Regions from separate parts of the Homo sapiens genome. Here regions 1, 2 and 3 are each linked to region 4. The links are contacts of gene promoters, found by promoter capture Hi-C in blood cells and fetal thymus (Javierre and others, 2016). All regions are on one chromosome and are shown on one strand. Each heading gives the region's core, a stretch centred on a gene start or on the middle of the fragment in contact. The rest is flanking DNA. Distances are from core to core; before and after follow the strand shown.

The links. Contacts are between HindIII fragments. The CHiCAGO score rates a contact against its expected background, and 5 or more counts as called.
Region 1: a contact is called between a fragment that was not itself captured here and the fragment with the promoter of EXT2 in region 4, in 1 of 17 cell types (endothelial precursors). The highest score is 6.4, in endothelial precursors.
Region 2: a contact is called between a fragment that was not itself captured here and the fragment with the promoter of EXT2 in region 4, in 5 of 17 cell types (endothelial precursors, naive CD8 T cells, total CD8 T cells and 2 more). The highest score is 8.3, in endothelial precursors.
Region 3: a contact is called between a fragment that was not itself captured here and the fragment with the promoter of EXT2 in region 4, in 1 of 17 cell types (endothelial precursors). The highest score is 5.9, in endothelial precursors.

The regions. Positions count from the first base shown.
Region 1 is chr11:44,496,522-44,501,779 of GRCh38, forward strand. No RefSeq gene overlaps it. Among named protein-coding and RNA genes, the nearest start is that of CD82, 67 kb to the right of the region's middle. The HindIII fragment of the contact is 681 bases long and covers 1,752-2,432 here.
Region 2 is chr11:44,556,470-44,561,926 of GRCh38, forward strand. No RefSeq gene overlaps it. Among named protein-coding and RNA genes, the nearest start is that of CD82, 6.5 kb to the right of the region's middle. RefSeq lists a silencer at 236-285 and enhancers at 2,694-3,330, 5,366-5,457. The HindIII fragment of the contact is 2,347 bases long and covers 2,654-5,000 here.
Region 3 is chr11:44,515,477-44,520,895 of GRCh38, forward strand. It overlaps LOC105376646 (a long non-coding RNA gene), which reads right to left. Exons shown (of 5, transcript XR_931232.1): 4 at 5,195-5,419; 5 at 3,351-3,502. It overlaps LOC105376645 (a long non-coding RNA gene), which reads left to right. Exons shown (of 3, transcript XR_931229.1): 2 at 369-512; 3 at 1,535-1,694. Among named protein-coding and RNA genes, the nearest start is that of CD82, 47 kb to the right of the region's middle. The HindIII fragment of the contact is 9,306 bases long and covers 1-5,419 here.
Region 4 is chr11:44,093,200-44,098,713 of GRCh38, forward strand. EXT2 (exostosin glycosyltransferase 2) reads left to right here and starts at 2,479. Exons shown (of 14, transcript NM_207122.2): 1 at 2,479-2,653. RefSeq lists a silencer at 2,346-2,965 and an enhancer at 3,386-3,435. The HindIII fragment of the contact is 9,066 bases long and covers 1-5,514 here.

The DNA.
Region 1 (5,258 bases), core at 842-3,341, 400 kb after region 4:
GGCAACATATTCTCAGGTTCCAGGGGATTAAGATGTGACCATCTCTGGAGGAGGGGGCACTTTTCTGTCTGCCACAGGTGGTAACCCCCCGCAGCCACAGCGATCATGGCAGCTGAGCACAAAGCCCTCCCTGTGGCTCTTTCACACATTAACATTGGAAATCTAGTGAGCTGGTCAGCCTGATCTTGGCTATGACAGAAGGCAGAGCAAAGGCATGCCTGATGTAGAGCTGTAGAAGGGCTAATGGCTTGGCAAGAGCTGAGGGGTGGTGATGCTGGGAAGGGAGACCAGCCCAGGGTCTCTGCACAGGGGGTGATGGAGCATGGTCAATACAGAGGCTGGCGAGACAGTGGTGGTGTTGGTCAGACAGCACCAATAGGTAGCCTTCCAGGACAAGTTCAGAAATGGACCCCACCCACCTTGCCAGAACACTTAGCAGAGCACAGAGGAAACCACTGCTTCTGAGAGCCAGCCCTGCAGCTAGAGGTCATCTCTCAGGGTCTCACTCCTCAGCTGGAAAATGCAGGTGATGAGAAGGGTGTCTCCCTCATAGAGTTACCGTGAGCATCCATGAATGATGGGTGAAAAGGGCATCACATGGTGCCAGGCATATGGTAGGTGCTCAGGGAGTGCTGGCCATTGACGCAGAGGTGGCCATCTGTGCACCAAAAGTGTATGCTCCCCAGCTGAGTCGTTGCTGGAAAACAGCAGCCCAGCCAGGGACTATGTTTCCTGGCCCCCTTGCCTCTGTGTGTGGTCATGTGACTGGTTCTGGGTCCAGTAGAATGTGAGCAGAGTAATAAGCCATTTCCAGGCTGGGCCTGTTCGATACCTGCTGTGGTCCTCCACATCCTCTCTCTTCTCCTAGCTGCCAGCTGAATGCTGATGCCCAGGAGGACTGTTGAAGCTAGAGGGTAAAGACGGCAGAGCCTCCGTCAGCCTAGGACCTGAGTACATCTCCCTGGTATTCCACTGCCGTTCAGACTTCGTGTGAATGAGAAATAAAATTCTATTGTGTTTAGCCACTAAGATCTTGGGATTTCCTCTATCCATAACATCAACTAACTTTACCTTAACTGATAGGATTGTCAATAATTCTTAGCTATCTGATAATTTGAGAGTCTGGCCCAAGAAATAAAACTGGCTTGAGTCTCAGAGAAGAGGCTTGGGAAATCTAAAAATGGAAGAATGGGGCATTGCATCGATTATAACCCTGAGGTCTCAAGGCTGACCCTTGTTGGGACAGTGTGAGGTGTACAGGCTAAATGTTGCAACTAGGATCAAAGGACCGTTAATAACAACTACAAATCATTAAGCACTTCCTGTGTGCTGATGCCTTCTTTGCTTTACCTCACTGAACCTTAAGAAACAGGTACCAAGTTTATTCTATTTACCAAGGAGGAGCTACTGTAAAAACCTCCCAGAGAGATTCCAAGTTTGGTTAAAGTTGCACAGCTGCAGAGCAGGGGAGCTGAGATTCAAGTCCAGGGTGCCTGATGCCAAGCTGCGCTCTCAACCTTTGCACAGATTCCCTCCATTGTAGGCTGCTGGGAGCTACAAGGATTGCAGGCTGCTGGGAGCTACAAGGATTGCAGGCTCATAAGCAAATTTTATGTTCAGCAATGACAAATTACCCAGGATTTGGCTAAAACCATCACATTCAGAGGCTCTAGAATCAGATTTGCGTAATAAGCAGAGGAGGTCCTCAGGAGAAGGGCCTAATTTATAATTCTGGGGCCAAGAAGTCTGCAAGCTTTGAGTTTGAAGACATATAAAGAGAGGTGATCTGCCTGCCTTTCCCTTCCCAATTCCTTCATCTGGCCAACATCACTAATGCTTCTGGCATTTTTATTCTTGGCTATTTACAAAACAACAAAGTTGAGTTATTACATTTTAGATTTTGACAATTATGGGTTCACAGTTAAATAATCTTATAGCTATTAAGACAAGGGTGAACTCTCACTACAACTGTCAATGTCTTTGGGTCCCAGATCCCCTAGGGCCCATCTGGAAGAGTCCATATTTCTTAAGCAAGCACCCAGAAGGTTGCATATTAATATCTGCCTCCATTATGTCTTGTCACAATAATACTGAGTAACAACCACAAAGACTCAGAGGCACACAACAATAAACATAGATTTGGCTCAAGAGTCTATGGAGTTTCATTGGTGTGGGCTGGGCTCAACTGACCTTGGCTGGACTGGCTCATGCATCTGCTGTCAGCCGTGGGTGGTCTGGAAAGTTCTGCTGATCTTGGCTGGGCTTATGCCCATGTCTGGAGTCGGCCAACTCTTGGCTGATCTAGGATGCCCTCGTCTGAGATGACTGGCTGACTCAACTTTGCTGCACAAGTCTCATCCTCCAACAGGATAGCCCGGGCATATTCCCATGGCAGGTACAAAGGCTCCAGAGAGAAGTGGGAAATGTACAGAAGCTTTTTAAAACACGTGCTTGTATCACATCTGCTAACATCCCACTAGTCAAAGCAGGCCACATGTCTGAGTTGCAGAGGAAGGACACTAAAACGTTACATAACAGATGGCAAGAATACAAAGAGGAGTAGATAACAAGGAGGGGGACATTGACACCGTTGATCTGCCATAATACTTACCATTTGCTGTGTATTTACTGAGAGCCAGAGACAGGGTGATACCCATGAGTATTGAAGATGATGTATGTAAAGGATCTGGCCCTTTAGAGCCAGATTCAGAGCCTCAAAGAGGTAAAGTAACTTTACAAAGGTCACACAGCTAGTAAACAGCAGAACTGAGATTAGAATTACATGCTTGTGGACTCCCGTAGGTGATTTTTCTATACTAGCACATGGCTTGGTTATTAATATTTTTATTACTAATTTTGAGGCTGCGTCCATACCATAACTGCTTACATTTCTTCTTTGTTTTTTTCTTTTGAGACGGAGTCTCGCTCTGTCGTCCAGACTGGAGTGCAGTGGCACGATCTCGGCTCACTGCAAGCTCCGCCTCCCGTGTTCACGCCATTCTTCCGCCTCAGCCTCCGGAGTAGCTGGGACTACAGGCGCCCGCCATCACGCCCGGCTAATTTTTTTTTGTATTTTTTTTCAGTACAGACGGGGTTTCACCGTGTTAGCCAGGATGGTCTCGATCTCCTGATCTCTTGATCGCCCCGCCTCGGCCTCCCAAAGTGCTGGGATTACAGGCGTGAGCCACCGCGCCCGGACAACTGCTTACATTTCTAAATTAGGCAGAAGATCCATATAGAAGGTTTGGGCCTTTGTGGGTCTGTTAGTGTAAACATTTTAAATATACAATTTAAAATAAGATGCTTACCCCAAAATAACAACAGTAATAATAATAACTTATCAAGAACTTACAATATGACAAGCACTGTGCTAAAATTTTTACATATGTCCCATCTTATTTAGGTCTCTCAATCATCTTACAAGCCAGGTATCATTTTCCCTTCTATTTTACATTTGAGTTTGTAAGAGGCAGGTATCAGTTCTAACCCAGGTAGGATAATGACCAAGCTTAGGCTTCGAACCGTCTTACTAAATGGCTCCCCGTTTGTGTTATGAAATAGAATTTGACATTTTTGGGGTCACTTTGGGGGTGATCAGCCAAGCCCCCACGAACCTCTCCCTTTCTGCTTTCATCTGCTTCTCTCAGGTGTCTGATCTCCTCAGGCAGGATTAAACCAGGCATGGGGTGCGGGGAGGGCTTTGGGTGGAGGGGCAGCTTCCAACGTTGCAGCGGTGAAATTGTGCTGGGAAGTAGGCGGGGCGGCGGGGGTTGCTCCTCATGGAGTGAACAGGCACTGGCCACTGGAACCTGGTTTCTTGGCAGTGCAGCCTCCAAGATGGATGGCCATGGCCTTCAGGGCTGGACAACCACTTCGCGGGGCTTTGATGCTCAAAGCAGAGCAAATGTGAGCCGGCCGCCTGGCCACAGCTGCCTCTCATTAGGGTCTGCTTCCTCCAGCCCAGGACAAGGTGGGCCCACGAGGTAAGCGGGGGCAAACACCATATGTGTCACCCCATCTGGCTGCAAAACCCTGCTCTTGACTTCTTGCCCCCAAATCCTCTTCCGAGTCCCCCACCCAACATCCCCCTGGTTCTTCAGGCCAGAATCTGAAGTCTGAACAGGTCTTCCCTCCCCATCATCACTACTTCCCCACATTGAATCCATCAGCAAATCCTATCGGCTCTGTTTTCAAAATAATCTTCAGTCTAACCAGCCTTCTCAACTCCATTGATAGCACCTAAGTCACATTCAGTCTGGCCTGGTTAAGGGCAGGAGCCTCTGGTTATGGGTCAAATTGTGTCCACCAATTAAATGTATATGTTCAAATCCAGGCTCCCCCACCCACCACCTCAGAATGTGATCTTCTTTGGAAATAGGGTCACTGCTGGTGTGATTACTTAACGTGAGGTCATACTGGAGTAGTATGGGCCCCTAATGTTCCTATTTAAAGGGGAAGTTTAGACACAGACATGGACGTGGGAGAATGCCTTGTAAAGATGAAGGTGGAGATTATGGTGATGCCAAAGATTGTCAACAAACTACCAGAAGCTAGGTAAGAGATAGGAAATGAATTTTCCCTCCCAGCTCTCAGAAGGAACCACCCCTGCTGACACCTTGATATCAGATTTTTTTAAGTGTGGGATGATGAATTTCTATTGTTTAAGCCTCCCAGTTGGAGATGCTTTGTCACAGGAGCCCTGGGCAGGTGCAGCACCACCGAACTGGATTCTCCACCTCCTCTTGCCTCCCTCCCCATTCACCCCCACTCACATGGCACTCCACAGAAGACTGATACTTCAACAATTCCAATTTGGACCATGTCATTCCCCTGCCTAGAATTGTGTGCAAGCTTACCATGGCCTTGGGAGGTAAGCCAGGCCCTGGGAGACCTCACTCCTTCCTTTCTTCCTCTTTCTCCCTAGCCCTCTGCCCTCTGCCTACCCCAGCCTTCATGTCCATCTTGAGCATGCCCCACCCTTCTAAGGGACTTTGCAAATACTGTGCCCTCACTCTCTTCCAAGTCTTTGTACAATCACCTTGTCTAAAGAGCCAAGGAAGGGGCCGGGAGCGGTGACTCACACCTGTAATCCTAGTACTTTGGGAGGCCGAGAAGGGTGGATCACGTGAGGTCGGGAGTTCAAGACTAGTCTGGTCAACATGGTGAAACCCTGTTTCTATTAAAAATATAAAAAAAAATTAGCTGGGTGTGGTGGTGGCCACCTGTAATCCTGATTACTTGGGAGGCTGAGGCAGGAG
Region 2 (5,457 bases), core at 2,577-5,076, 460 kb after region 4:
GTGCCAGCTGATTTTTTTTTTTTTTTTTTTTTGAGACGGAGTTTTGCTCTGTCTCTTGGGCTGGAGCGCAGTGGGGTGATCTCGGCTCACTGCAACCTCCACCTCCTGGGTTCAAGCAATTCTCCTGCCTCAGCCTCCCGAGTAGCTGGGATTACAGGCTCATGCCACCACACCCGGCTAATTTTTGTATTTTTAGTACAGACAGGGTTTCACCATGTTGCCCAGGCTGGTCTTGAACTCCTGACCTCAGGTGATCTGCCCGCCTCAACCTCGCAAAATGCTGGGGTTACAGGCATGAGCCATTGCGCCCGGCCTTCAAGCCGCTCTTAATTGGCTGCACTGAGCGCTGTGGTGGACACCAGAGGGCGATAAATGCTCATTTTGGAGAAAAGAGTGATGAGGTTTTTGGTTTTATTTATTTTTTTCTCCTCTTTCTCTTCATTTCTGTTGGTAAAAGGAATGACTTGGACACAACTAACTAGTGCATCTCATAGCCCTAAAGTAGCAAATATTGTATGTGCATTGCCTGCAGCGTAAGCAGTGAGGAAACAAACCCAGAGAGGTGAAGGTCACATGTGCCCAAAGTCACATGTTGGAAAGTTACCAGAGCAAGGACTTGAGCTAAACCATGTCTCACAGAGGAGGGCAGTGCAAACATGGCAGTTTTCACAGGGATCATCCTGGAAAGTGGTGTCCCTGTCTTCCCGCTAAGGTCTGTGTGGCCCTGCCAGCTACTCAGAATGCTCTCAATATGAACATGAATTCAGCCAGTATTGCTCCCCGGATTGCAAACTCAGTTCCCCATGGGAACCAGGCAGGTCACAAAAATGAGGGAAGCAGGCTAGATGAGCCATAGGCACAGTGGGGACTGTAGCCAGCTGGAGGTCATATGTCGCAAATAAAGAGGTCAGCCACAACTCAGGTCCATCCGCTGTGGCCCCGTTGGAAGGCACAGCAGGAGGCTCAGATGTCCCTATCCCTATACATCTAAAAATCAACATAAAATTCCCCAATTTTTAAATGCTGGCCACAAATTCAAAACTTTTTCAACTCAACTAAGCCTTGGCCTTCTCAACTGTATAAGGGAGAGAACGTCTACACCATCAGCTTCTTGGGCCACAGGTGTGTTCTTTTAGATCTCAGGCCTGATTCAGGGAAAGATCTCCCCACTGATATAGTGCAGCTCCACCGAAGAACAGCTGTGAGAGTTCCCCTTTCTGCAGCACCTCCTCATCCATCTCAGGGGCTTATGAGTGCAGGCATACATTGCTTTTTATTACGCTTTACAGATAACGTGTTTTTTACAAATTGAAGGTTTGTGGCAACTGAACTGAGCAAATTTGTCCGTGCCATTTTTCCAACAGTATGCACTCACTTTTTGTCAGAATTTTGGATCAATTTTTTTTTTTTTTGAGACTGAATCTCTCGCCCTGTTTCCCAGAGTGCAGTGGTGTGATCTCGGTTCACTGCAACCTCTATCTCCTGGGTTCAACCAATTCTCGTGCCTCAGCCTCCTGAGTAGTTGGGATTACAGGCGCCCGCCACCATACCCAGCTAATTTTTGTATTTTTAGTAGAGACAGAGTTTCATCATGTTGGCCAGGCTAGTCTCATACTCCACACCTCAGGTAATCCATCCACCTCGGCCTCCCAAAGTGCTGGGATTACAGGCATGAGCCTCCACACCTGGCCAGGATCAACAGTTTTTAAGTAAGGTATGCACATTTTTTAGACATGCTATTGCATACTTAATAGACTATGGTGGAGGGTAAACATAACTTTTACATGCATTAGGAAACCAAAAAAATTTGTGTGTCTCACTTTATTGCAATATTCGCTTCAGTGTGGTGGTTGGGAAAGGAACCTGCAACAGCTCCAAGGTGTGCTTCTATCTGGAGACTGAAAAAGCGCTGCCCAGAGTAGTCCCCTTTCTTCTGCTTTGCTCTTCCAAAAATCCCTCCCTAAAGGCGTGGCCGATGGTCTCCAATGTGATCCGCTGGGGTTCAAGGAGAAAATAATAGGACTGCTTTCTGTTTATTTTATAGATATATATATACAATATTTTAAATAATTATCATTTAAAATTTTTGTTTTTTGGCCAGGCGCAGTGACTCACACCTGTGATCCCAGCATTATGGGAGGCCGAGGTGGGTGGATTGCCTGAGGTCAGGAATTCAAGACCAGCCTGGCCAGCATGGTGAAACCCCGTCTCTACTAAAAATACAAAAAAATTAGCTGGGCGTGAGTGAAACACACCTGTAATCCCAGTTACTTGGGAGGCTGAGGCAGGAGAATTGCTCCAACCCAGGAGGCAGAGGTTGCAATGAGCCAAGATTGTACCACTGCACTCCAGCCTGGGCGACAGAGTGAGAATCTGTCTCAAAAATAATAATAATAATAATAATAATAAATAAAATAAAATATTTGTCTTTGTGCATAGTTCATATTATGCAAAATGGCTAATAAAATAGTACATACATATCTATTATAAACAAATGACATATATTGGGATGTATATAACCCTACCATGGGTTTAAGCTGATGCCTAAAAAGAAAAATAAACGGGTAGAACAGGGAATTTGGGGAGGGGGGGACATGATTTAATAGTTTCAAAGACTTACCCAAGTGCCACAGTTGTAAGATAAATATAAATAAGCTTTAGAATATGTAAAGTGCTACGCAAATGCTAGTTATCAAATTAGTTAAATATATTTAAATTAGTTATTTTACAGCTTACTTTTAAAACGGTGGCTGCCATTATTAGTGTCGTAGTTGCTATGGCAACATGGCAATGTACAGGGGCTAAAAGCCCCCTGAAGAGTAACCCCTGGACCTTCAGATGTAGTAGGCGGCAGGGCAGGATTTGAGCAGGGGCCTCACTGATCTTTCTGAAATGACTGAGACAGGAACAAATCAATGGCTCAGTGTCTTCTGTGGGAACTCAGCCCCTGTCCTCAGCTACAACCCAGCTATAATGGGCTTAGAGTTCCAATCCCCTTTAAGTGCTTTGGAGAAAAAAATAAAGGTCGGTGGTCCTGCTGAGCCCATTCAAATGCAGGAATGACTGTGTTCAGGAATAGAGAAATGGAAACAGAAAGTGTGGGAAAGTGCTATTAACCACTTCCTGGCCTGAGACTCGGCAAGAGGACAGAGGATAGGGCGGGGTTATGCCAAGCAAGTGCTGGAGCCCAGCTTTCTGGGGCCAGCCTTCTTTCTGTAAGCAGGAAGCAGGGTCCCTTCAAGGCCCTGGGGAACCTCCTTGATCCAGTGCGAGCTTTTGCGATTCAGTGTTGGGCGCTCACTGGGTCCCAACTTGGGCCTTTCCCCTAGGGCTCAATTTCAGGAACTGAAAATTGGGTTAGCTATATATAAGCTGCAACTTCACTTTCCTCCATCACTTGTTAGTTGTATGACTTTAGCATCTGAGTGCTCCATTTCCACATCTTGGGAATGGGCCTCATAATAGTATGTGCCTCACTGGGTTGTTGCTATCAGGATTAAATGAGTGCAATTTTTAAGTTTGTAACTTTAAGGAAACAGTGCAGGTTTAGGGAGGGAAGTGCTAACTCTATTCTGAGGACTCTTGAAGAAAGATCTTAAGACATCCACTTACTAGGCCAGGCGCGGTGGCTCACGCCTGTAATCCCAGGATTATGGGAGGCCGAGGTGGGTGGATCACGAGGTCAGGAGATCGAGGTCATCCTGGCTAACATGGTGAAACCCAGTCTTTACTAAAAACACAAAAAAATTAGCTGGGCGTGGTGGCACACACCTGTAGTTCCAGCTACTCACAAGGCTGAGGCAGGAGAATCACTTGAACCTGGGAGGCAGAGGTTGCAGTGAGCCGAGGTCGCACGACCACACTCCAGCCTGAGCAACAGAGTGAGACTCCATCTAAAAAAAAAACAAAAAAAAGACATCCAGCTACTCAAGACCAGTTGTCCACTGCTGAACTTCTTATTCATTTGTGCACAAATGCTTGTGTGATACATACTGTATACCATTTTTTAAAACAATCAATTGAGTTTGAACTCTCAGCTCCCATCAGAGAAACCCTCCTCCAGTCATTCTGAGGACTCGCTTGGGGCAGATTGTATTTTTCACAGATGGCTGCAACAATATCTCCTTTCTTGAAAACTCTTCTAGAATTTTGTTACCCCCTGGTTAAGAAAGAGACTATGTACCCTGCTCTTGAACCAGGGCCTTGGTGACTGCTTCTACTAATAGGATGCAAAGGAAGTGATCCTATATGACTTCTAAGGCTAGGTCACAAAATGCCATGCACTTCTAAGTGAGTCTTTGTTCTTCAAAACCGGCAGCCAAATTATGAAGAAGCTCAAGCAACCTGTGGAGCAGCCTCATGGAGAGGACCAAAGGCCTCCACAGCTCTGGCTGACCTCCCAGCTGGCAGCAAGTGCCAACTTGCTAGGTGTGTGAGTACACCATCTTGAAAATGGATCCCCAACCTCCAATTGAACCACCTGACATTGCGTAGAGCAGAGATAAGCCGTTGCTGCTGAGCCCACCCCAAACTGCAGATTTATGGGCAAAATAAATGAGTGGGATGGTTTGTTACATAACAGTAGGAAACAGATACCCGCACTCATTCTCTTTACCTTCCTCCACCAGAGATGTGCAAAAGTCTTGGGGCCTTAACCTAGGCCCAGACACTAACAGGGAACTGGCCCCCATGTTCTTGCCTACAAGTTCTTTGAAGTCTCCTGCTCAGCTGTTCATCTTCCACCTTTGGGGTGGGGGAATCTTCTGAGAGCCTGGCAATCCTATAGCCATACCTCTCTGAGGTCTTGCCACACCACCGTCTTCCCCATCTCCAAGTTGGCCATGGATATCTTCTCTCAAGGCTTTCTAGGGTGGTTCTTCTCACCCCTTTTCCCACCTCCAGAACTCCTGGCTCCACCTCTAGAATGGACTAGAGGTAGAGTCTCACTAGAAGTGTCTGCGCTTTCTGCCTGGCAAAATGCCCAAGGTGAGTCATGACAAAGCTTGCCTTCTGCTGGAAGAGAGGGGATAGGGACAATGCTGAGGGAGCCAACCCAATGTGATATTTCAGTGAATGACTCTGCTATGGTTTGAATGTATTGGAAACTGAATCCCCAAATTCATATGTTGATGGTATTTGGGGGTAGGGCCTTTGGGAGGATTAGATAAGGTCATCAGGATGGGGCCCTCATGATGAGGACTGGTAGCTTTATAATAGGATGAAGAGAGACCTGCGGTGGCATGCCCTTGCCCTCTCACCATGTGATGAGTCAGTAAGAAGGCTTTCACCAGATGTAGCCTCTCAACCTTGGAATTCCCAGGCTGCAGAACTATACAAAATAAAATTCTTTTATCGATTACCCAGCCTATGGTATTGTGTTATAGCAACAGAAAATGGACTAAGTTAGACTCAGATGCACATCTACTCAACAACTGTCCCTTAAGCTTCCAGGCATGT
Region 3 (5,419 bases), core at 2,262-4,761, 420 kb after region 4:
TCACACCAGCATGAAGTCCGACTTGATGTAATACTTTTCCAAGAATAGAGAATGCAAATGAAAGAATTTTGTTCTTTCTAACCCCAAACTTATTCCCATATCGGGCCTTTGATGCAGCTACAGCTTCGAGAATGTGGACTCTCCTTTCCCCCAGCACCTTCACCCAGAGCCTCACTATTCCATCCTTTAGAGATGTGTTGCCCCAAACTTTGCATGTTGAAGCCCTAACCCCCAGTGGGAATGCATTGGAGACAAGGCTTTTAGGAAGTAATTAAGGTTAAATGAGATCATAAGGGTGAATTCCCAATCCAATGGGATGGGTGATGTTATAAGAAGAGGAAGAGCTCTCTCTCTTTCTCTCTGGAAAGGTCATGTGAGGACAGAGTGAGAAGGTGGCTGCCTGCAAGCCAGGAAGAGAGATCTCACCAGGAACCAAATCAGCCACCACTTTGATCTTGAACTTCACGGCCTCCAGAACTCCGGACATGAGAAATAAATGTCTGTTGTTTAAGGTATTGTTTAAGATACTTAAGATACTTTGTATGGCAGCCCACGCAGGCAAAAACAAGAGGTTTCCCAACTCTTTTGATCATGTATCCCTCTCCAACAGTAAAAACATTGATGGGCATGGTAGTTCATACCTGTAATCCCAACACTTTGGGAGACCAAGGCATGAGGATTGCTTGAGCCTAGGAGTTTGAGACCAACCTGAGCAACATAGGGAGACCCTTTATCTAAAAAAAATAAAAAATTAGTCAGGTGTGATAGTGTGTGCCTGTGGCCCCAGCTACTTCAGAAGCTCAGGTAGGAGGATCACTTAAACCTAGGAGGCCTAGTCTGCAGTGAGCTATGATTGCACCACTGCACTCCAGCCTGGGCAACAGGATGAGACTCTGTCTCAAAACAAATCAAAAAACATTGAGCACACCCTCCGCCAACTGTATGCATAACTATTTATAAATTTTACATACATATGCCATATACTTTGCCATCAATCTGTGCATAAAACATCAGAGAAAATTTTGGTATCTTGTTTTTAAGATTGACAAATAACAATAAATGAAAGTTTTACTATTTTCTTCATGTACCCCATGGATTCGCTTATGCACTCCTCTTAGGAGGCATTATTTTATAACTCAATCTCTGTTATTCAGGAAAGCATTTTCTGATCTACAACTCACTCATTCATTCATTCATTTATTCATTGAACAAATATTTATAAAAGCCCTACTAAGGACAGTGTATATTAATGCATCAGATGTGGTTCTGCTCTGGAAGGCAACAATTCAGTCTTGGTGGGCCTTCCTGTAATGCAGTCTCCTCTGTGGCTAGCTGTAATTAAATAAATGTTGAATTATCTGTTTATAAGACATCTACCCTTCCCATCAGCTCTGTCTGTACCATTCACTGGTGCCCTCTTAGAACTTGGCACATAGTAGGTATTCAATAAGTAGCAAATGGATGAATGAATGAACACATGAACAAAAGAATGAATGACTGAGCTCACTTCCCCTTTTTTCTCCCCTTTCCTCAGGTCAGTCTTGCCATGAAAACATTTTGAAGCAGCCCAGGGGCCGGCAGATCGGCCAGTGGAGTGGGAGTGATGGGGGGAGATTTGTGAGCAGGGGCCAGGTTAGCAGTGGTTTTATTACATCCCATTAAGCATATGGTCATAATTATAATAAGCACATGAGTTATGGCGAGTGACATATGTTTCTTTAGAAAAAAAAGGAGAGGAGGAAGAGAAAAAGAAACACTGCAAGCCCCCAGAAGTGGCCTGGATAGGTGGCTGGGCCAAATGAGTGAGCGTGGGCCTGCCCTGCCCTGTGCTTTTTAACCCCTTCACATCCTGGGCGTGACCTGCAGAAGAGAGAGAAGGCAGCCAAGGCTGGGCTCCAGGGAGATCAGGGACTCCCAGGCACCCAGCAAGGTCTGGGGGCTTCTGAGAGGATCTTGCCCACTTCTCTGAGAGTCACCAGAGGACAGGCATGTGGTCAGCTAGTTAGTGTTCCAGTAGCCAAGACAAGACCTGGCCCAGAGCAGACATTTGGGGTGTGTGTGTGTGTGTGTGTGTGTGTGTAAAGAGAATGGAGGAGGGAGAGGAGGAAGGAGAAAAGAAAGAATAAAGAAAAAAAGAAGGGAGGGAATAAGGGAGAAGAGAGAGGGAGGTGATTAGAGCTTCTAAATGAACTTTCATTTGTTCATTCATTCAACAATCAGGTTGTTTAACGCACATGGCATGGTGCAGTGGGTGAGCCCTGGGCTGGGGTCGGGACACCTGGGTTGTTCCCTGGGCTTCTCCATTCATATCCTGTGTGGTCTTGGGTAAACCACTTTCCTTCTCTGATCCTGATTTTTCTAAGGGGCTGGTCACTCAAATCTTTCTGGGCTTGGGCTTTGTGGGGTTTGCAATCCTCTGGGTGGACAGGGACCCAGAGAAGCCTGCCTCCTGCAGGAGATGCACCAGGGATGTCTGCAGCCAACCCTCAGCCAGGAGGTTCCTAACAGATCATTTAACCAACCTCCCTCTCATCCATTTTCCAAGTGTAAAAATAGCAGCCTGGATGTCTGTGCTGCCTCCCCATGAATAAGCCAGTTCTTCTTCTGTCTTCCATGTCCCGAGGTCCAAAAGGACTATAACCAAAAATTCAAAGATACAAGCATCTTTAGCCCATCTTCCATGATCAAAGAGATCTCCATGTCTGGGAAGCAGCAGAAGACAAGGGACCCTATTCTAAGAAGCACCACCTCACCCTGGCAGCCAGACCTCTAGCCCTCGGCCCCTAGAACAGGCATCAGGGGCTGCAGAAGGAGGCTGTGGGAACTGGGGACCGTGGACACCAGAACCTGGGGGGTCAGGAGGAACCAGACCCCATCTCTGAAAATGTGCACTAGAGCCTTGTCACCTAGAGAACAGTGCTTTAACTCACTCAAGTGGTTTCACACCATCTTGGTTGATGAGGAGATGTGATTTGCTCAAAATCTCTCAGCAGCAGGTGGCAGAGCCAGGCAGGGATGCGGGTCTGCCTGAAGCCTGTGCCAGGCCAGTTCTTCCTGCCCAAGGGCCCTACCTCTGCAGAGCGGAGGCCTGGCCTGGCCTGGCCTCTAAAGGTGTGACCTGGGGCAAGTCAGGTCAGCACTCTGACACTCAATATCTTCCCCTGTAGAATGGAGACCGCCCCTCAGAGGGCTCTTGGTGGGGGTGTGGGGCTTGGGGCAGGACCAAGTTAGAGCTTCCCAGACTTTTCCCCAAGGGAGGTGGCTTTTATTATCCTGTGTTTTGAAAGATTTCTATCTCTTGAACAAACTTTGTTTTAAAGTAATAATTAATTTATTTCCCCCTTCTTATTCCTCAAAGACACAGGTGGTCATCCTCTGAGAGATGACTGTGGCTTCCATGCTTGGCTGTCAGAATTCCAGTCGCCTCCAAGATGGAAGACTCTGCCCAGCCTGGATTCCTTGACCACAGGCAAAATATGTCTGGTCTGCGAGGGCCCCTGAACTGTTGAGATGACAAGATTAAACCCAGAAGGCCATCTGCCCTCTGAGGACCCCATGCCAAGCACCCCTGAGAGGGTGATGGTGATCATAAATGAAGCTGTGGGCCTTCATGGAGCTCCCTGACAGACCCACATGGCTCCTGGAAGTTTGCATGTGTGACCTGGAGGGCTCTGGCACTTGTGCTCATTTTGCAGAAGAGGAACTGTGACTAAGACATCAACGATTCCCCCCAAGCTGGGAGGTGGCAGAGTCAGGGCTTCAGTTCTATCTGATTCCAGAACGACCCTTCTGTTGTAGTCAGCTTGGCCTGGCTTAACAAGACACCACAGGGTGGGTGGCTTAAACAACAGACATTTATTGCTCCTAGTTCTGGAAGCTAGAAGTCCAAGATCAAAGTGCCGGCAGATTATGTTCCTGGTGAGGGCTCTCTTCCTGGCTACCTTCTCACTGTGTTCTCAAGTGGCAAGGAGAGAGACAGAGAGGTGTAACTCTGGTGTTTCTTCCTTTCCTTATAAGGACGTGAATCCCAAGATGGGGGTTCCACCCTCATGACCACATCTCAACCTAATTACCTCTCAAACACCCCACCTCTAAAACCTTCACATTGGAGGTTAGGGCTTCAACATGTAAATTTGGGGGGAACACAAACATTCAATGCATAACATGCCCAAAACCCCAACACTAATCTCCCCCTTCCCATGACTGAGTCCAGCAAGGCCTCCGTGAGTGGATCCTTGCCCTGGAGGACTTTGCAGTGTAGCAGAGAATGCTGGACGAAAATTGATCTGACCAAACTTGCAAGGCAGCCATGCAAAGGCCCCAGGAGGCCTCGCAGGATTTGGCCAAAGATTGGCCACTGGTCCTGCATCAGAGCCAGACAGCCAGGAGAACTCTGAGCTTCCCTCTCTGTGCCTCAGTTTCCACCGCTACAGAGCACGGACACTGATGCCTCAAAGGGCTGCTGAAAGCCTTCCAAGAAAACAGCAGAGGTCAAAACGCCCAGCGACCTGCGACTGAAACAAATCCGCCCTCGGGCTGCAGGCCTTCTCTGTGCGTTGCCAGGTGGGGGCGGGAAAGGAAACGGAGGAGGATCGCATTCTGGGGGCCTGTCCCGGGAACTGGGGCCGCCCCGCAGAGTGATGGCCACAGTGGGACGAACCTCCAGATAAATAAGAACAGTCCGCGTGAGCCGGGCTCATCTTAACACTAAGCAGAGGGGCCTGGGGCCGGACTTGAAAGCTGCCGGCTGAGATGGATGGGCTGCTGCCGAGGCGGGGGCAGCTGGGCGCGGGGAATGAGTGATGGGGTGTCGGGGCGCTCAGTCACCGCCAGCCAGAGATGCCGGCCTCTGTCCGGCCGCCGGGACATGTGCAGGGCCGCCGCCCCTCCCACGGCCCTGCGGGGGATTTATGGCTTCGTTAAAGGCCCGGAGAGGGGCTGAGGCCAGGCCTGCGGTGGGAGGGTTGGATGTCGGCCTGGCTGCCCCTGCTGGATTTCCGCCCTGAGCAGTGGAGGGGAAACCAGGCCGGGCCCCACAGGGCAGTGTGGCTAGGGGTCAGGCACAGAGGGGCGTGAGGCCTGGCCTCCTTCCTTAGGTTGGCTGGCCCCGAAGGACGCCTGGGTGGAGGGTGCTGGCATCTCCCAGTGACCCCCTGTACCGGCCCCACCCTTGGCTCTTGGTCTGTGTTTATACCTTGGCGCCTTCGCAGCTCCGCTTGCTTTTTCCAGCTGCCTTGCTTTTCCCCACACAGGTCCTTCTGCCTGGAGTGCCCGGTGCCTTGCAGAGCTCCCACCCTTCCTTGTTGCCTTGGCGCCTGTGCCACCGCTGTTGGAAGGCTTCCTTTGACACTCCTGCTCCATCCTGGCAGTGCGGGGCTCCCTCATCAGGGCCCTGCTTTTCTCCTTGTCCATCAAGGCA
Region 4 (5,514 bases), core at 1,229-3,728:
TTCTGCCTTCTCAGAAACTTCAGGTCCTGGCTTATAATTTATTTCCCACTCCTCCCTGAAGTCATCCTTGGATACTTTCGCATCATGTAGCTTCTAATTTCACATCTTCTATATTTTCCCACCTCCCTCACTTGCATGGTTTCTATGCCTAGAAATGTAGCCACACTGGATTGAAAAACACTTGCTCTTTCTGATTGCTTTTCCTTCTTTATTTTTATTTATTACTCTTTTTTTTTGCAGAGATGGGGGTCTCACTTTTTTGCCTAGGCTGGTATTGAACTTGTGGTCTCAAGTGATCCTCCTGCCTCGGCCTCCCAAAGTGCTGGGGTTACAGATGTGAGCCATTCTGCCCAGCTGCTTTTCCTTCTTTAACACATGCTCATGACTTTCTTTCTCTGCCTTGAATGCCCTTTTCACCTCTCTGCTTGTCAAAATACTAAGTGTCCTCCAGGATAAACAAAGATATCAACTGTTGATTGAACTCTTCCTAGATTTTTCCAACTGGATGTCACCTCTTTTTTTTTTTTGAATTCTGTAGCATTTTGTTTATATGCTTCTATGCCACTTTTTACCTTCTCCTTTGAATAATCTTATTGTCTTATTTCTAGTTAGCTCCTCCCAGTGTCTAGGCATCCTTTCTCCATTCAACAACTATTTATTGAGCAATTAACTATATGCCAGGCATTAGGCAAGTTTAAGGTTATAAAAAATGAAGAAGATAGGCAGCATTGTGTGAGGCTGTGCCTCACACAGTTCTTTAACACGGCAAATTCTCATTTTATAAAAGAACAAAGGATTAATTAAAAACATACATGTTTAAAATACAGATAAATATGGAGAAGAAAAAAAGAGGCCACAATCTTCCAGACCAGATAGCTATTGTTGACTTATTTCAAAAAGTGAAAACAATATTCCCTGGGATAAGATAAATTTGGATACAGTTCCAGTGGTGATTGTCACTGCTCTCCACCCATCCAGTTCTCAAATGGGGTGGGTGTGTGCTACATTTTGTATCATTTGCAGGGGGGATTTGATTTGGAAAGCAGAGCAATGCCCCCTTGGATGTGGGGAAGCAGAACATGAGTGTCCCATCCCCAGAATGTCCTCATCCCAATCTCCCTAGATCTGTGACAAGCAGGCATTAACTCACAAAAATATCCCTGGAATCGAGGTTGCTGCCGGAAGCCTCTGTAGGTATCTAGTCTCAGAATCATCACTTTGAATATTTAAGCTATCAGTGACAACTTCCACCAGATGGCGCCAAAGTACATCTGGGACCAGAAGGGATTTGGATCCTGTAGCCAGACCCACAACTCTACCAAACCAACATCGCAGGCCCAGGGGTCATTTCATTAACCTCTCAATAACATCGCTCTGAATTTTAATTTAATTTTTTAGTTTCCACTTACTGCTTTATGACAGCGGTTTTAGTGTGCATGGATAGGGCTAAATCATGTAAATAATAGAGAAAGATACAAAACAAAAATGCGTTTTTTTTTTTTTTTTTTGGAGACAGGGTCTTGCTCTATCACCCAGGCTGGAGTGCAGTGGCACGACCACGGCCCACTGCAGCCTTGACCTCCTGGGCTCAAGCAATCTTCCTGCCTCTGCCTCCTAAGTAGTTGGGACTACAAGCGTGTGCTACGATGCCTAGTTAACTTTTTATTTTTTGTAGAGATGGGGTCTTGCTCTGCTGCCCAGGCTGGTCTCAAACTCTTGGGCTCAAGCGATCCTCTCGTTTAGGCCTCCCCAAATGCTGGAATTACAGGCGTGAGCCACCTTTCCTCGCCATAAATGCTTCCATTTCCGCCTCGACAACTACTCCACCTGAAGCTGTTCATTTCTTCTTGCATTCCTTCCAGAAAAAAGTTATACACATGCCTGAATATAAGCACCTACTTTATATATTTCTCCCTCTTGTTTTTGCATATGCATAGTTTACCTAAAAGTGACTTGCCCGCTGTTTTGGACTACGCTTTGATCTTAACTAATATCTTGGAGATATTTCCTTACCCAAATATATTGCACTATCTCACATTACTCAAATCAATCAAATTCCATAATTTATTTCGATTGTGTCTAGCATTTCGCTATGATTAGAAAGAATGCTGTCATGGAACTTTTTGACAAACATTGTTGAGAATATCCATAGGGCAAACTCCGTACAGAGAGCTTGTTGGAATGAAGGGTACCAGCATTTTCCGTTTGATGGATAGTACCAAATTGCCCTCCAGGAATGTTATACGCTCACCAGAACTGATTATAATAAAACGTCTACATATTTGTTAGTTTTATAAGCAACGCGTGGTGTCTCGTTTGGGTTTAAGGATTCTTTAATTATGAATGAGGCTGTCTGAGCATTTCACTGCGGAGCCTGAGCGCGCCTGCCTGGGAAAACACTGCAGCGGTGCTCGGACTCCTCCTGTCCAGCAGGAGGCGCGGCCCGGCAGCTCCCGCATGCGCAGTGCGCTCGGTGTCAGACGGCCCGGATCCCGGTTACCGGCCCCTCGCTCGCTGCTCGCCAGCCCAGACTCGGCCCTGGCAGTGGCGGCTGGCGATTCGGACCGATCCGACCTGGGCGGAGGTGGCCCGCGCCCCGCGGCATGAGCCGGTGACCAAGCTCGGGGCCGAGCGGGAGGCAGCCGTGGCCGAGGTAAGCGCGGCTCTCCAGGGCGGCGGCCGGGCGGGCGCTGAAGCGAGGGCTCGGGCCTCCGGGGGCCGCTGCTGGGTCGGGACAAGGGCCGAGGGAGCGCGGCCGCGCGGAGGCTCCGTGGAGGCCCGTGGGCTGCGAGAGGCCACCCCCAGCCCCGCCGGGGCTGTGACAATGACTGCCCGCTTTTGGAGCGCTCCGATTTCCACTCCTGCTTCTCCTTCTCCTCCGGCGGCGGCCGCGCTTTCAGCATCTTGGTACCCACCTGTTCTCCTAGCCAACCTTCGCCCCCAGTCCGCTCCTTCCTTTCCTCCTGCGACCCGCCCTCCGCCCTCCGCCGTGACCCCTCCCTTCCTGCTGCCACCTTCCCGCCAGCCACAGGGATCTGATTCCTCCCAGGGGGATGTCCTGCGCCTCAGGGTCCGGTGGTGGCCTGCGGCATCCCTTGCGGTGCCAGAAGCCGTGGGACGAGGTAGGGAAGGGGCCAGGGGCATGTTATGCCGGGGACTGGGTGGTCGGGGGCGTGTTAGGCCGGGGACTGGGTGACCGGGAACTAGATGGCCGGGGGCGTGTTAGGCCGGGGACTGGGTGGCCGGGGTCATGTTGGGCCAGGCACTAGGTGGCTGGGGGCGTGTTAGGCAGGGGACTGGGTGGCCGGGGGCCTGTCAGGACGGGGCAGGAGTATGTTAGACTGCGGACTAGATTGCTGGTGGCATGTTAGGCCAGGGACTAGGTGGCCCGGGGGTGTGTCGGGCCGGGGCCAGGGGCATGTTAGTCTCGGGACTAGGTGGCCAGAAGCACACTGGCTCTGGGCTTCAACTTGAAGTCCAGAGGTGTTTGGGGCTTTGTTACATTCGGTGGGAACCAGATCTAAACACACAATTTTGAGAATCAAAGAATTGCTTGGTGTTACTGATTGGGCAATGCTAATCTAGAAAGGTTCTTGACTTATTTATGTGAAGATATGGTCTTGAAATATGTACATTTAAATTCTTGTAAGTCTTAACTTCTTGTAAGTCAGGTAAGTGCTCTATGTACTTTAACTGGACTTAGTTTGTAACTTTCAGAACTCAAAGGCTATTCACTGTAATAAAATAGATGATTCAGTTTCCATCATTCACTTTCCCCGACTTCCTGGTTGCATGTGAGGGTATGAATGGATAATCAGTTTTGGGGCCAGACTGCCATGCTGTGAATCCTAGCTTTGGCATTTCCAGTTGTGTAATATTGGGCCAGGTACTTAAACTTTCTGTTGTACTATCCCCATCTGTAAAATGAGGGTAATAATAGCTTGGCTTATAGTGCTGTTATGAAGATTAAATAAGTTAACACTATAAAGTGCTTAAAACAGACCCTGGCATGTAGTAAGTGCTTAGTAAGATTTACATATTAATTATGTAATGACACACATTGTCTTATGGTATAATTCCCATGATTAAAAGGGCATTGTTTTTAATTGAAAATAATTTTTAGGGGCATTTAGCCATAACATAACTTTAATTATAAAGAATCCTATCAAGTAAGGCAATGAATTGTGGCTTTTTTTGCTTTTGCTTATATTTGGTTCCTCTGTTTTTCGGAATGGTTGGGTTAAGATCCAGTGTGGCAGTGGCCCCAGGAGTTCAGCTGTAAGGCCCTTTCTAAAAAGGTTAAGAAGAGGCCAGGCGCGGTGGCTCACGCCTGTAATCCCAACACTTTGGGAGGCCGAGGTGGGTGGATCACTTGAGGCCAGGAGTTCAAGACCAGCTGGCCAACATGATGAAAACTTGTCTCTACTAAAAATACAAAAAAATTAGCTGGGTGTGGTAGCACACGCTTGTAATCCCAGCTACTTGGGAGGCTGAGGTTGTAGTGAGTTGAGATTGTGCCACTGCACTCCAGCCTGAGTGACAGAGCAAGACTCCATCTCAAAAAATAAATAAATAAATAAATAAATAAATAAATAAATAAAATAAAAATAAAAAGGTTGAAACGACAAGAGACTGTGACTGAAAACATTGGACTAAGTGGATTGGCTATAACCTGAAGCACCAAGGAAAGATTATTCAGGCAAATTTTAGGAATAAATAATTCCAGGAACAGAAAATGCATCTCATCCTCACAATAGGTTGGGGTTAAAAGACTTTTCCAGTGACTCAGTGCTTGACAGCTAGCCAGATGATTCCAGTGTTTTGCAGGGGCAGGTTTGATGTGTTTCAAGGTGATAAAGTTTGTAGGGCTGAAATTCTTGTTTTGATCCAGGTTATGGTATTGTATGGAATAAACCTTCATTAGTAGAAGATTCCTTTCAGTCTGTCATCTTCCGGGGATTTTAACTTCTTGGTGGTAGGGAGCAGTCTCACTGGACAGAGAGATTATGACTTGTTTCCTCGGATGATGGTTTGGAGATACTCCATCTCTCTGTGCTTTGGCATGTGAAAACTGTTTTGGGAGGATTGGTTCTGTGTGTTACAGGGGTGAGGTTGGAGTGTCCTGAGTCGGGAGCACTGTCACTTCAGTCTAGGCTGGCAGTTTTACAAAAGGGGTCCAGTATAGCACAGGTTTATAAAGGCAGGGGTGCAGCCTGGGCACGGTGGCTCAATCCTGTAATCTCAGCACTTTGGGAGGCTGAGGTAGGTGGATTACCTGAGGTCAGGAGTTCAAGACGAGCCTGGCCAACTTGGCAAAACTCCGTCTCTACTAAAAAATACAAAAAATTAGCCGGGGATGGTGGTGGGCGCCTGTAATCCCAGTGACTTGGGAGGCTGAGGCACGAGAATCGCTTGAACCCAGGAGGCAGAGGTTGCAGTGAGCCGAGATGACACCACTGCACTCCAGCCTGGGCAACAGAGAGAGATTCTGTCTCAAAAAAAAAAAAAAAAAAG